2 separate regions of the Homo sapiens genome follow, and region 1 is linked to region 2. Evidence: promoter capture Hi-C in human tissues and cell types (Jung and others, 2019). All regions are on one chromosome and are shown on one strand. The core of a region is centred on a gene start or on the middle of the fragment in contact, and the rest is flanking DNA. Distances in the headings are between cores, read along the strand shown.

What was found. The method cuts DNA at HindIII sites, captures the fragments that hold promoters and counts their contacts. A contact is called where the count stands out against the background at its distance.
Region 1: a fragment that was not itself captured here is called in contact with the fragment with the promoter of NYAP2 in region 2 in 2 of the 25 tissues and cell types used here (adrenal gland and hippocampus).

What each region holds. Positions count from the first base shown.
Region 1 is chr2:225,227,059-225,233,212 of GRCh38, forward strand. No RefSeq gene overlaps it. Among named protein-coding and RNA genes, the nearest start is that of NYAP2, 170 kb to the right of the region's middle. The HindIII fragment of the contact is 5,034 bases long and covers 20-5,053 here.
Region 2 is chr2:225,396,917-225,403,647 of GRCh38, forward strand. NYAP2 (neuronal tyrosine-phosphorylated phosphoinositide-3-kinase adaptor 2) reads left to right here and starts at 2,794. Exons shown (of 8, transcript NM_001371273.1): 1 at 2,794-3,339; 2 at 3,645-4,127. The HindIII fragment of the contact is 4,626 bases long and covers 62-4,687 here.

The DNA.
Region 1 (6,154 bases), core at 1,287-3,786, 170 kb before region 2:
TAGGGTAGAAGCTGGTGATTCTGAAATTTATTGCTGTGTAAGTGCTAATGACTGTGGCAAAGACACCGAGACAGACAGTTCCTGGGAGATTAGGTGATGGGTAGATTCTTTCTGACAGGTGACTTTGGGTGAAGGACTCCTCAACAGTCTGGCTGAATTTCCTTTAAAACTGCTCTGCAGTCTAAGATGTTTCTACCCAAGCTTCCTTTCTCCCTTCTCTCCTTCACTTGAGATCAGAAATGCATGGAGATCTGATGGCACTCCCAGCCTCTTTCAATATTGTTCCCATTTTCAGTCACAGGTGTTTTCCTTAAGATTTTCTTTCACATTGGATTCAGTCTTGACCTCTGTTTCTCAGAGAACGTTGACAAATACAGAAGCTACTTGTCACTGTTGTTGATATTAATTTACTATTTCTGTGGGCAATAATTTTTAAACTTAGGGATGTATTCAGTGGGACTTCTGTTGAGATATTTAATGGGAGATAGATTTTTATTTTTATGACAATGAGTGGATTAAACCGGGATGTCCTTGAGTGAGGGGAAAGGGTTACAATGGCAGTAATGGTCTAGACCCATGCATTCTGACCCCAAAAGCCAAAATCATTTCTAACAAATCATTTTCTATTCTGTTCTTAATTATTTATGAACATCTGTCCACCACTTATGACACTCTATTTCACTATTGTGTCATTTTGATGATAGAGGAGTTATTCTTAAAATCTCATGAAAAGATCCCCTTTTAAATATCGCTTTAAAAATCTCTACAGATGCAGAGAACAACCCCATTCAATCCTTCAAGATTGTAATCAGGTCACCATTTCGTATTTTTTTTTGTTCTAGTATAAAGAGCCAATTTCATTCATTAGTTTGTATATTCATTTTTAGCAAGTAATTTGGGTGCCTTATTATACTATTTTTTGCCAATTTCATTATTTCTGTTTGTATTTCTTGAACTCTCTCCAATTATTCTAGAATTTTTTAAAGGCTGATGATCAATATTAGGCATTATTATAATAAGGATCTCACTTGCTGAAAGGATTACTCACTCTTTCACTTTAATGTTATATTATTATATCACTTCTGTTCTTCAAATCCTATTGCCAACATCACTTCTGTGCCAACCACTAGAAAGGTATGTACTAATATTTCACTTGTGATCAAACACTGCTTCAGATTTTTTTTTCCTTAATTTCATTTAGTAATCTTCTTTAGTGGTGTGTTGCATATCTATTCTGTTTTGCAATCTTAGTACCAGCATCTGGCTAATTTATTTACAGTGTTTTTTTCTTTAAGTTCTTCTTTTTGTTTCATTGAACAACTTGATATAAAATGAAGGTAGAAATTCAGTCTCACTCATTTATGAGTTGTGTGCCTAGGACAAATTACTTAACTCCCTCATTTCCTAATGTAAAAAATGAGGATAATTATACCCAGATGATAAGTAAAATGTGGAAAACAAATGACATAGTAACATAAAGTAAGCACTGATGTGTCCGGAATTGGTGGGTTCTTGGTCTCACTGACTTCAAGAATGAAGCCGCGGACCCTCGTGGTGAGTGTTACAGCTCTTAAGGTGGCGCGTCTGGAGTTTGTTCCTTCTCATATTCGGATGTGTTCGGAGTCTCTTCCTTCTGATGGGTTCGTGGTCTCGCTGGCTCAGGAGTGAAGCTGCAGACCTTCGTGCTGAGTGTTACAGCTCTTAAGGCAGCACATCTGGAGTTGTTTGTTCCTTCTGGTGGGCTCGTGGTCTCGCTGGCTTCAGGAGTGAAGCTACAGACCTTCACGGTGAGTGTTACAGCTCATAAAAGCAGCGTGGACCCAAAGAGTGACCAGTAGCAAGATTTATTGCAAAGAGTTAAAGAACAAAGCTTCCACAGTGTGGAAGGGGACCCCATCGGGTTGCCACTGCTGGCTCAGCAGCCTGCATTTATTCTCTTATCTGGCCCCACCCACATCCTGCTGATTGGTAGAGCCCAGTGGTCTGTTTTGACAGGGCGCTGATTGGTGCGTTTACAATCCTTGAGCTAGACACAAAGGTTCTCCACGTCCCCACTAGATTAACTACATACAGAGTGTTGACACAAAGGTTCTGCAAGGCCCCACCAGAGTAGCTAGATACAGAGTGTGGATTGGTGCACTCACAAACCCTGAGCTAGACACAGAGTGCCGATTGGTGCATTTACAATCCCTGAGCTAGACATAAAGGTTCTCCAAGGCCCCACCAGAGCAGCTAGATACAGAGTACCCACTGGTGCATTTACAATCCCTGAGGTAGACATAAGATTCTCCACGTCCCCACCAGACTCAGGAGCCCAGCTGGCTTCACCCAGTGGATCCCGCATCGGGGCTGCAGGTGGAGCTGCCTGCCAGTCCCGCGCCATGCGCTCGCACTCCTCAGCCCTTGGGTGGTAGATGGGACTGGGCGCCGTGGAGCAGGGGGCGGGCGCTCGTCGGGGAGGCTCGGGCTGCACAGGAACCCACGGAGGCGGGGGAAGGCTCAGGCATGGCGGCCTGCAGTCCTGAGCCCTGCCCCGAGGGGAGGCAGCTAAGGCCTGGCGAGAAATCGAGCGCAGCGCCGGTGGGCCGGCACTGCTGGGGGACCCAGTACACCCTCCGCAGCCGCTGGCCCGGGTGCTAAGCCCCTCATTGCCCGGGGCCGGCAGGGCCGGCCTGCTGCTCCGAGTGCGGGGCCCGCCAAGCCCACACCCTCCCGGAACTCCAGCTGGCCTGCAAGCGCCGCGCGCAGCCCCGGTTCCCGCTCGCGCCTCTCCCTCCACACCTCCCTGCAAGCTGAGGGAGCCGGCTCTGGCCTTGGCCAGCCCAGAAAGGGGTTCCCATAGTGCAGCGGTGGGCTGAAGGACTCCTCAAGTGCCGCCAAAGTGGGAGCCCAGGCAGAGGAGGCACCGAGAGCGAGTGAGGGCTGTGAGGACTGCCAGCACGCTGTCACCTCTCACTGGCATAAAGTAAGTCCTCAAATGCTAATGTTCTTCACGTAGATGTGGCCATTTACTTTATGTACACTAAATTGCAATAAAAGAAAGCTTAATTTGAGAGAGAATGTATCTGAAGAAAACCTTCAAAAAAGCTCAGAAAGGGAATATAGTCTCAGTGCTTTTAGAAACAGCACATTTGACTGGCTTAAAAGAATGAAACCAGGTATCATATTCTTTTCATTCATTTTTGCTTTAATTTACAGCAGAGACATGAGGAAAATGCTCCCCTCCCCAACTAAGACACTGAGAAAATATTCCAATACAAAAGAAACATGCATTTATTTTCTCAAAAAGGGAGAGAGATGTTTTTCATTAGACCAAAGGAGAAAATACCAACGGAGAAAAGCTAGGAATAAAAAATAAAGAAACCTTAGACATGTAGCTACCTACAAATATTGGAAACATTGTCATATAGAAAAGGGATTAAGTTTGTTCTGAGTGGGCCAGGAACTGTGGTTAGTGCAATGACAAATGAAAGAGAACTAAGAGAAAAACTTTTTAAACCTGAAAGGCACTCAAAAGTGGAATGGATCAACAACTCAGGATGCATTAGTTTCAAATGACAGAGGCTGGAGAATCACTCTGTTTACATAGAGAACACGTTGGCTGCATTAGACCTGTATGTATCAAGCTCACCTGTAGTACAGAGCAGGAAACTCCCTGAATGACCCTATGGGGACCATTGGAGTAAGGGGCCAGGGAGAAATGGAGGGAGAGAGAAGTCCCCTTGCAACTACTGAGCTATTAAAGAGGTGGAGGTAGAAAGGAACTGGAGGGAGACCACATGTATTTGCCTAGCCCGTCATTGCACGAATGGTTGGCAAACAGGCATCTAAGCGTATCCATTCTTTCAGGTGGCCCTACTCTGCTAAGGCACTGGGGTGGAAATAGTGCAGTGGACAAGGTATTTGTATTTCCTGACTTTTGAAGCGTCAAGGTAAACTCAAATGACTGTTACTGACAAGTAAGAAAACAGGTGATGAAATTGAATAATATCAGTTTTGAAAGTGCTATGAAGGAAGTAGGTGAAGGATTGATAGAGAAAACTGGGAATAAGAGTGGATAAGGCAGAGAAGACTTCTGTAAGGAGCTGTCCTTTATTAATCTGGGTGCTTTATAAAATAAAGAAAAGAAAAGACGAGATAGATGATTGATAGATGGATGGATGGATAAATAGATAGATAGATAGATAGATAGAAAGCCAAATATGCAAATAGGGAAAGGAAAGCATCAGCAAGTAGTGAAAGCTCATGGCGTTTTCTTGGAAATGACAGAAACCCATGAGATCATTAGATTTGATCTGTGTGAGGCTATAGTGATGGTTGGGACATTTTAGGAATTTAATTTTACTATAACAGAAATGGGAAACTATTGAAGAGATTTAAGACAAGCAATCAGAAAAAATATATATTTAAGAATTGGTTTTGAAATGTTCCACTATTTTGAAACAAAACTAATAGAAAATTTGCAAAAATAGTATAATGAATTTCTTTACACTCTAAATTTGTGACTTATCATGTATCCTCTCTTTATATAGAAAAGAACTATTATTATTATTGTTATTACTACTGAGCCATTCGAATGTGGGTTATAGACATCATGGCCCTTTACCCAAAAGTATTTCAGTATCTCGAAGGAAAAATGACTTCCTCTTATGTAACTCCAATGCAATCACCAAATTTATTAATTATAAAATTGTTGTACTATCTAATATATAAAGAATATTTAGGCCGGGTGTGGTGGCTCACAGCTGTAATTCCAGCACTTTGGGAAGCTGAGGCGGGTGGATCACCTGAGGTCTGGCATTTGAGATCAGCTTGGCTAACATGGTGAAACCCCATCTCTACTAAAAATACAAAAATTAGCCAGGCATGGTGGTGGGCGCCCATACTCCCAGCTGAGCAGGAGAATCGCTTGAACCCGGGAGGTGGAGGGTGCAGTGAGCTGAGATTGCACCACTGCAGTCCAGTGTGGGTGACAGAGTGAGACGCTGTCTTAAAAAAAAAATAAATAAATTTTCCAACTGTCTCTGTAAATTCTTTACACGCAATTAGCTCCATTGTCTGGGTCCAGGATTCATTCCAGGATCACACACTGCATCTAGTTGCCATGATTTCTTTGTCTTCTTGGTCCGGAAGAGGTCTCAGCCTTTGTCTTTCCTGACACTGACATTTTGAAGAGTATAGGCCAATTGAGGTACAAACTCACAGCCCTTTAATTTGAAGTTGTCCCATGCTCCATCATGATTACATTCAGGTAATGCATTTTTGGCAGGAATACCACTGAAGCGATGTCCTTTTACAGGAATAATACAGAAATTATGACTCTCTTACTTCATTACATTAGATAATATTCACTTTGTCCCATTAATTAGTGGTATTAACTTTGACTAATTGTTTAGGGTGGAAAAATCTGCTAGGTTTCTACACTAGAAAGTTTATTATTTTTCCCTTTCTCGGGGGATACTTTGAGAATATGTAAACATGCAGTTTTTTTATTAAACTTTACTTAGTGGTATTTAGCACTACTGGTAATTCTTACCTGAATCAATTATTATTACGATGGTTGAATTTTATAACTCTTCCGTTCTTTTTACATTAGTTGTCATTCTTATTTACTTATTTCTTACTTAAAATTGTTTACTTGCTTAGGTATTTACTCATTTATTCTCAGTACGAACTCATAGATTCTTGTTTTATCTATGGTTTAAAATCTATCCCTGCATTATTCATTTTGCAGCACAAATTGTCTTTACTTCGCCAGTGGCTGCTCATTTAACCTGGGTCATTTTTTCCTTCAACGTATTCCCATCAGTTTTGGGGTACTTCCTTATTTGTTTGTCATAATGATTCCAGGTACATCTTGTTTCCCCCTTCCAAACCTGGCTCTTTTACTGGAGAGTGGTGTTTAGAAAGTAACATCTAGGTGAAGTTCATCCTTGGAGTGGCGTGAGGAGCATGGAATATTGCAGGAGAGAAGATAATTCACCAGAGACTGTTGCATTCATCTGAGTGAAAGATTGCGATGATCTAGTCCAAGGTGATGGTAATGGAGAGATGGAGATAAAAGGACACGTTTTCCATATGGAAATTGATAATAAAGGTTGGATATTGAGGGCGAGGAAGAAAATGGGGATTCAAATGTAATCTCAAGCTACCG
Region 2 (6,731 bases), core at 1,544-4,043:
AAAAAAAAAAACTAGAAAGGCTTTGTAGTAAATTTTGATATGACTTCAGAGAGTTCATCCTCACTTCATGTATTTGAATAAACCCTTTAAAATTTAGGTAACTAAATTATTCTATTTCAATTCTCACTTTTCTCATTTACGTCACTTTTATACAACAAGCACTTTCCACCATCTGGCTGATGTATAGAATAAGAAGCATTTTCAGGGCGCTGACTCGTCTGGTCTATCCAAGTTCACTGAAGGGACCTATTTAACCCCCAAAGCATCAAACTCTATTAATACAGTGTAACCAAAAGAGCTAAACTCTACCCTGACTAAAGAACTTTAAAAGAAATATCAAGTCATCAGGTATCTCAATGACTTGTTTCTTATTGACATCAATAAGATGTCTATTCAATAGAGTAGAAATAGAATAGAAACATCCATGTATTTTATAAAGATGCACAAGAAATAAACCAATACATGAGTATAATTTGAGCTTTTTAAATATCTCTATACCTTTATTCCCGATATGAGGATTTTTAACTTAAATTTTGTCCAACGCACTTTTCTCCAGATACTATTGAAATGAGTAGAGGTGCGTTCTGCATTTGGCTCTAAGATGATTTGCAAGAGTAAAGATGCTTTGCTGTTTCATTCAGTGAGACCTAAAGTAGTTCTGGGGTCCTTCTCAGCACGATCCTCAAAGGTTCTATAAACTCCTATACACTAATATGTCTCCAGAGAATATATTGCCCTGTCAGTGACATTGACACCTAGAATGAGGAAAGTGTGGGATTGAGAAAATGGGATTGGTAAAATGTGATGATTCTCAAGCCCTATTCTGTAATATAAAGAGAAAAAGAAAGAAAAAGAAAAAGGCAGGGAGGCAGGCAAGTAGGAAGGAAGGAAGGAAGTAAAGAAGGAAAAGAGGAAGGAAAGAAGGAAGGGAGAAAGGGAGGGAGGGATGAAGCAAGGAATGAAGGAAAGAAAGAAGAAACAAAACAAGGAAGGAAAGGGGAGGGAGGAGAGGGAGGAAGGAAGGAAGGAAAGAAAGAAAAAGATATATTTTCCTAAAGTTGAATATATGAAACTTAAAAGACCATCTATTGTTATAAATATGCTTTCTCTATTCTTCTAATATAAAGATTCCTTTTACTTTTTGAATTTTTGTGGTGAGGAAATGGCAGATTCTTCATTTTTTATGCTTGGCAACTGTATGTCAGCCTCTCCTCACTTTGTTTGGATTATTTTGGTGCATGAAATCAAGGGGACTGAGAACCACTGTACTGGCCAAAGATGAGGAGACCTGCAGTCAGCCCAGGGACCTTGGGTCTTAATCCTAATGAGGCAATTAAGTAAGTCAGAAACAAGTAAGTCTGTTTACTTATCTTGGTAGTATTTTTCTTACATATAGAAATGGGCTTTACACTAGAGCTTATTCAAGCTCTCCATAGTTCAAAATATAGACCCCCAGACTGGCAAAATTATCAGTCATGATAAAGTGTTTCCGTTTTCTAAAATGTCTGTCAATAATTTTTTTTTTGTAAAGAACTTTTTCCACCTTTGGTCATGTGCTGAAAGACAACATCTATGAGAACACTTCACTACCAAAATAATGGCACATTAGTAAACCTCTTGATCACAGTGTGGTGGCTGTTACTAGTTTATAAGTGGTGCTTGAGGCACTTTTCAGCAATGTGCTAAGTATTTAGAACCTTCATAAGGCAGAGAGAGAGAGAGAGAGAGGGAAAGGGAGAGCATTGGGATAGGGGGAAGAGAATATGAGAGAGGTCTGGCCTCTTCTCTTCCCCGTTTGTATTTCTCCTCCTTTTCATCTATCTAATCTTGCAGAATCCTTCTTAAAATTAAACAGATGTCCTGTTCTAACCAAAAGCTAGATACACAAAGACCAAGAAATAAGTGATGAGCTTCAGGAATGCACTTCAGGACATGTAAAATAGAAAAGCTTTATAGTAATGTAATGTGTTGATTTTATTTTTCCCCAGATACTTACAAGTTAAAGAAATATAATTTAAGAAAATTACAGCACAGTCTCAGGTGACATTTAAGAATTAGACAGGTGAACTTGTTTATTTTTGTGGTCTGTCAATGCATTAAAAACTAAATTCAGAAAACTATTTTCTAAGACTTTGGTTATGAATATAGACGTTAAAAAACACTCTTGGGAAAACCAACCTGCAAGTGAAGGTCATTTACAGTGAGTTACTGAAAAAGAATGTGAGGGGAAAAATCTATAGGTCACTATCAAGTAATAAGCACATCCCCTCCCATCAAAATTGCTTTTTAAGCTCATATCCATCAGAAACATATTATATATTATTCCTTTTATCATAGTGCAAAATTAATAGATTAAAACATGTACATTTTAGTTTTTACTGAGGAGGAGCCAGTATGAGAAAAACTTTGAGCTTAATAAATACAAATACACACAAACACACATATATAAGTTGTGGTATATAATGTGATATATATGTATATATTCAGTAGAGTATTAAGAACAGAATGAGGAGAGTCTTTGGGAAATATCAGAAATAGAATGACTTTAATTTTAACAATGAGTCTATAGGAATTAATGACATACATATCATAATTATTTTGCATCTTATTTTAGTTAAAAAAATGTGCAGTCCGAGTAAGACCTTTGTTCCACACACGTGTGTGCTGTGCATATTCTTTCTAAGTGGACTAGTTTTGTTCTCATGCCATGGGAGCAGGTGGCATGAAGCTGTTTTGATGAGGTTAAAAGGCTCCTCCCCTCTCTCCCCAAGCAGCAGCCTGAAGTACGTCAGCAGTAATTGTGTGCATGGCTCGGCTGTGCAGGGAGGGTGGAGGCAAAATTGATATCAAATAAGGGTATCAAACTGAGATCTAGATGTTCCATTTAAGTTGTTGTTCATTTTCATTAGCCACGCCAGGGGTGAAATGCTTATAACTTAACCATTCTCTGTAGTAAGAACATTTGTTTTCAATGGATTTATATTTTTCCTCTCCATAAAGACTGAATTAGTGCTATAGTGAATATAAATGAAGGGTGTTTCTTTACCCTCTTTTCCTTTTATTATTTACTAATCAGACTTCAGCTCAGTTAGATAAAAGAGAGAGGTTCTGTTGCCTAGATGTGAGGCCTTTAATGAGGATGGGAGCCCCCAGGGAGCCGAAATCCAAAGTAGAACGATGCCGCTTTCCGGTTTCTTGCAATTTCTTCAGTTGCTTCTCCCTTTTCCAATGGGCCTAGTGAGCAGGAACTATCCAAGGTGCTAGAACGCTGGCAGCCTTGCCGTTCAATGCAGACGGATTGCAGAAACAGAGAAGAAAGATTACTGCTTATTTCAGAAGGTAGGTTCTTTGTTTCAGAATCCCTGATTAATCAGCAGCAGCTTCAACAGACTAAGGCAGCTGGAGAGGAGAAAGAGAAGCAGGAAGGGAGGGAGTCAGGGGCAGGGAGGGAGGGAGGGAGTGGAGGGAGAGAGAATGAGAGAGAGAGAGCTGGTTGTCACGGGGGAGGGACTATGCCACAAGCTGGGCTGCTCCAAACCTTCTGTATGTAAGTGGCAATGAGAAAGAGCATCTTTTTGGCTGAAAGGAGACATTTAGAAAGGATGTTTCTGATTTTTTGTTTTCATTTATTTTTGTCTTCGCAGAATATAATCAAATGAGGTACATTAGCCAGCTTGGTGATTGCTTCTGGTCCTGTAATCATCTGTGTAGCAAAGTGGGTAAAATCATTCAATTTCTTCCCTGCTGGACCTGGAAGGAGAGGGGCTGTGTGTTCATCCCCACCCATTAGCTATGCCCTCTTTTCTCCGAATGTCGATTTAAGGAAGCAAGCACCTGTCTTCCGCCACTGCATCTTCCTAGCAAACTTTAAAGGCCATTTTATCTGATAGGAAGGACATCGAGAATGCTCTGATCTAGTGATGAAGAATCTGGGAGTCGACACTTTTCCCATCCAGACACAATGCACTTTAATTGAAGAAACACTGAGCTGAACTACAAGTCTATTTCTTATGGTGCTGGATTACTCCTACAGAACTGCCCTGAGATCAACCGTGAGAGAGGGCTCTGACAGACACAAGTCACCTTCTGGTTATTGCACTTAGCTCTCCCTGGGGACTTAAATTTTGGTATGTATCTCATTTTTCAGATTCTCTAAGCATGCTAATCGAATCCAGCACTGAATAGATCAAGCAATCTGGTGATAAAATGGAATGGATTTTAGTTAGGGATACTTAATGCTGAAGTTTGCATGCCTTATTAGGTGGAGCAGAAATAAAGCCACAGTGAAGGCATCCAGGGCTTTAGTGAGCCTGAGGCTATTTTTACTCCCTTACCCACTTAGTTACATTACCATGGAAATGGTTAAACTAGATTTTCATTAGTAAAATAAGCCATGTTGAATTATTAAAGCTTTGAAAATGTTTTCCAGGGTATTAATTGGCATTCAAGTTGTGCATGCTAGCTATTTATCCGCTATTCCATACCATAAATATTTTACAACTGTCTCTTAGCACATTTATGTCAGCAGTGAGAGCCCAATTTTACATTCTCAGGAGAAAAGACACAGTATCCCCCAAAATTCAAAACTACCAGACAAACAGCAAAGCCGACACTGCTTCTTCCTGACTGATTAGACATAAACCTCTTTGAGAAACATTTTTTAATACTATTCAATGTCAGAAAGATTTTATTAGTCTCATCACAATAAATATTTTCTGTAAAACTTTAGGTGGACTTGTTTTACTTGGGACATGTTCTTATTTTGTTGGGGTGTCTCCATCCTAATTTTTCCAACTACTCAGCAATATTTTAAATACAAGACATGTGAGTATTTCATATCTGGAAAAACTATTACATAAAATAATATTTTTCACTATCATTGGGAAATACTAAAGTTCTTTTGGTACCATAGAATTGGATTTTTTTTTCTAAATATAGCCGAAAAATAATGAAATTCTGAAAAGCTTACATGATGTAGTTTTAGTCATTTTAACATCCAAGCATTTATAACCAAGTAGTGTGGAATAACAAATATAGAGAAAGAGTGAAAATTAACTCTCTTCCTAATTCTTCACATTTTAGACAATGTTCTCATTTATTTTATATATTGTCAAGCACTAATTACACAAATTAATGAGAAAATGTGGTCCACAAATGCAGAAATTATTTTGTTTTCCTATGGAAAGTGCAACATACATGAGCCAACTCAGCAAAGAAAGGGACTATGTGAAGGACATAGACAGTTTAGAGAATTAGTGGAAACAGACCAGAGGAAAATATTACAACTGCACAAGGGACAGTGGAGAAGCCTGAGGACTTGAAGCATCTGTCAAGTTTAGAAAGAGAAGTGTAAAAATCCTAGACACAAGAAGGTTGGTTATTGTTTAAAAAAATAAATAAATTATAGACTCCCAATTCAATTAGATGGTTCCCACTGTAGCTCCAGTCAGCAATTTATTAGACTGACTACATCTACTTTGCAAATAATGCCTTGTAAGCATCTGGAACCATTTGGCCCAAGCCTCCAAAAAGTATCTCAGCCACTGGCATTTTGCATGAGTCTCCAATATTAATGGAAATGTACAATCTCTTTACACCATGGGCAAACAGCACCATGACAACCTGGAAGATGAGGGGGAGATACCAATTCATGATGCTACTGCATTAACACGATTTATGCCTATCTTACTCATTTTGGGAAGAGAGATAGTGGAGAAAAACTCACTGCAAAGTAATCTGCTTTCTGAGAAAAAAGCAATCAGTGTCTTTGTAGTCACTTTAGCAAGCTTTCTTGGTTGTAGCTTCAACATTTCCCATTTTGGGCAGAACAGCTGCATTTTGATGACACTGAGAATGAGAAAATGAGTGTGACCATTTGTGGGGTAGGGAGTAGGATTTCAAGCATAATCAAAGTGAAATTATAGGAGTAATGCTTGACAAATTATAAGATTTTATCAGAAAAAAATTTTGACATGGTTTACATGTGTTATGGGTTATAACCAGGCTAGTCTGATGATTTGGTCCTATGTGAAGTCAGCAAATTTTAAATATTAATTTGCATATGTATTTTACATATGTATCAGAAGCCTGATTATTTAAATCCTTACATTTTCATACACAATGTGTTTTCAAATTGGTTTGAGTACATGCAAAAGTTGTAAAAGATTTTTTTCTCCTGCTAAACAAAAACAACAAAAAATAGTCAAAATTGCCTTGGGAAACTTTTATTGGATCAATACTACTAGAAAAAAAGTAGGATTCTCTACCTCAAAGAAGATGCAATGATTGGAGTAGGAAGGAAACTCAAATCTTAATAACTCAAATTCTAATAACTTCCTCACAGCATTGAGACAGGTGTGGTTTAAAGAGCTCAGAAATATATAAAGGTGGAGACTAGAAAACTTTACCCTCTGCAAATAAAATAAAAACACAAATGTGAAGTACAATAAAAGTAAAATATTTAGGTTTCCATCAGGACATTTGTTCCATTCTATGTATTGTGTTCTTCTGGCTGGTCACAATTAGCATTATAATAATCGCACAAAATAAACTATCTTATTATAGCTATAAGATTATCTTGTAGGATTAACTGTGGCCTAAAATTAAGGAAGCTTCTCATAGAGCTTCAGGTATTAAGATTAGGAAGCCATTCTTTCCCAAAACAGAGCCTTTTCTCCCTCCACCACTTAGTATATGTGGCAAATAACCAAATTAACAGAGGTGTCACAACT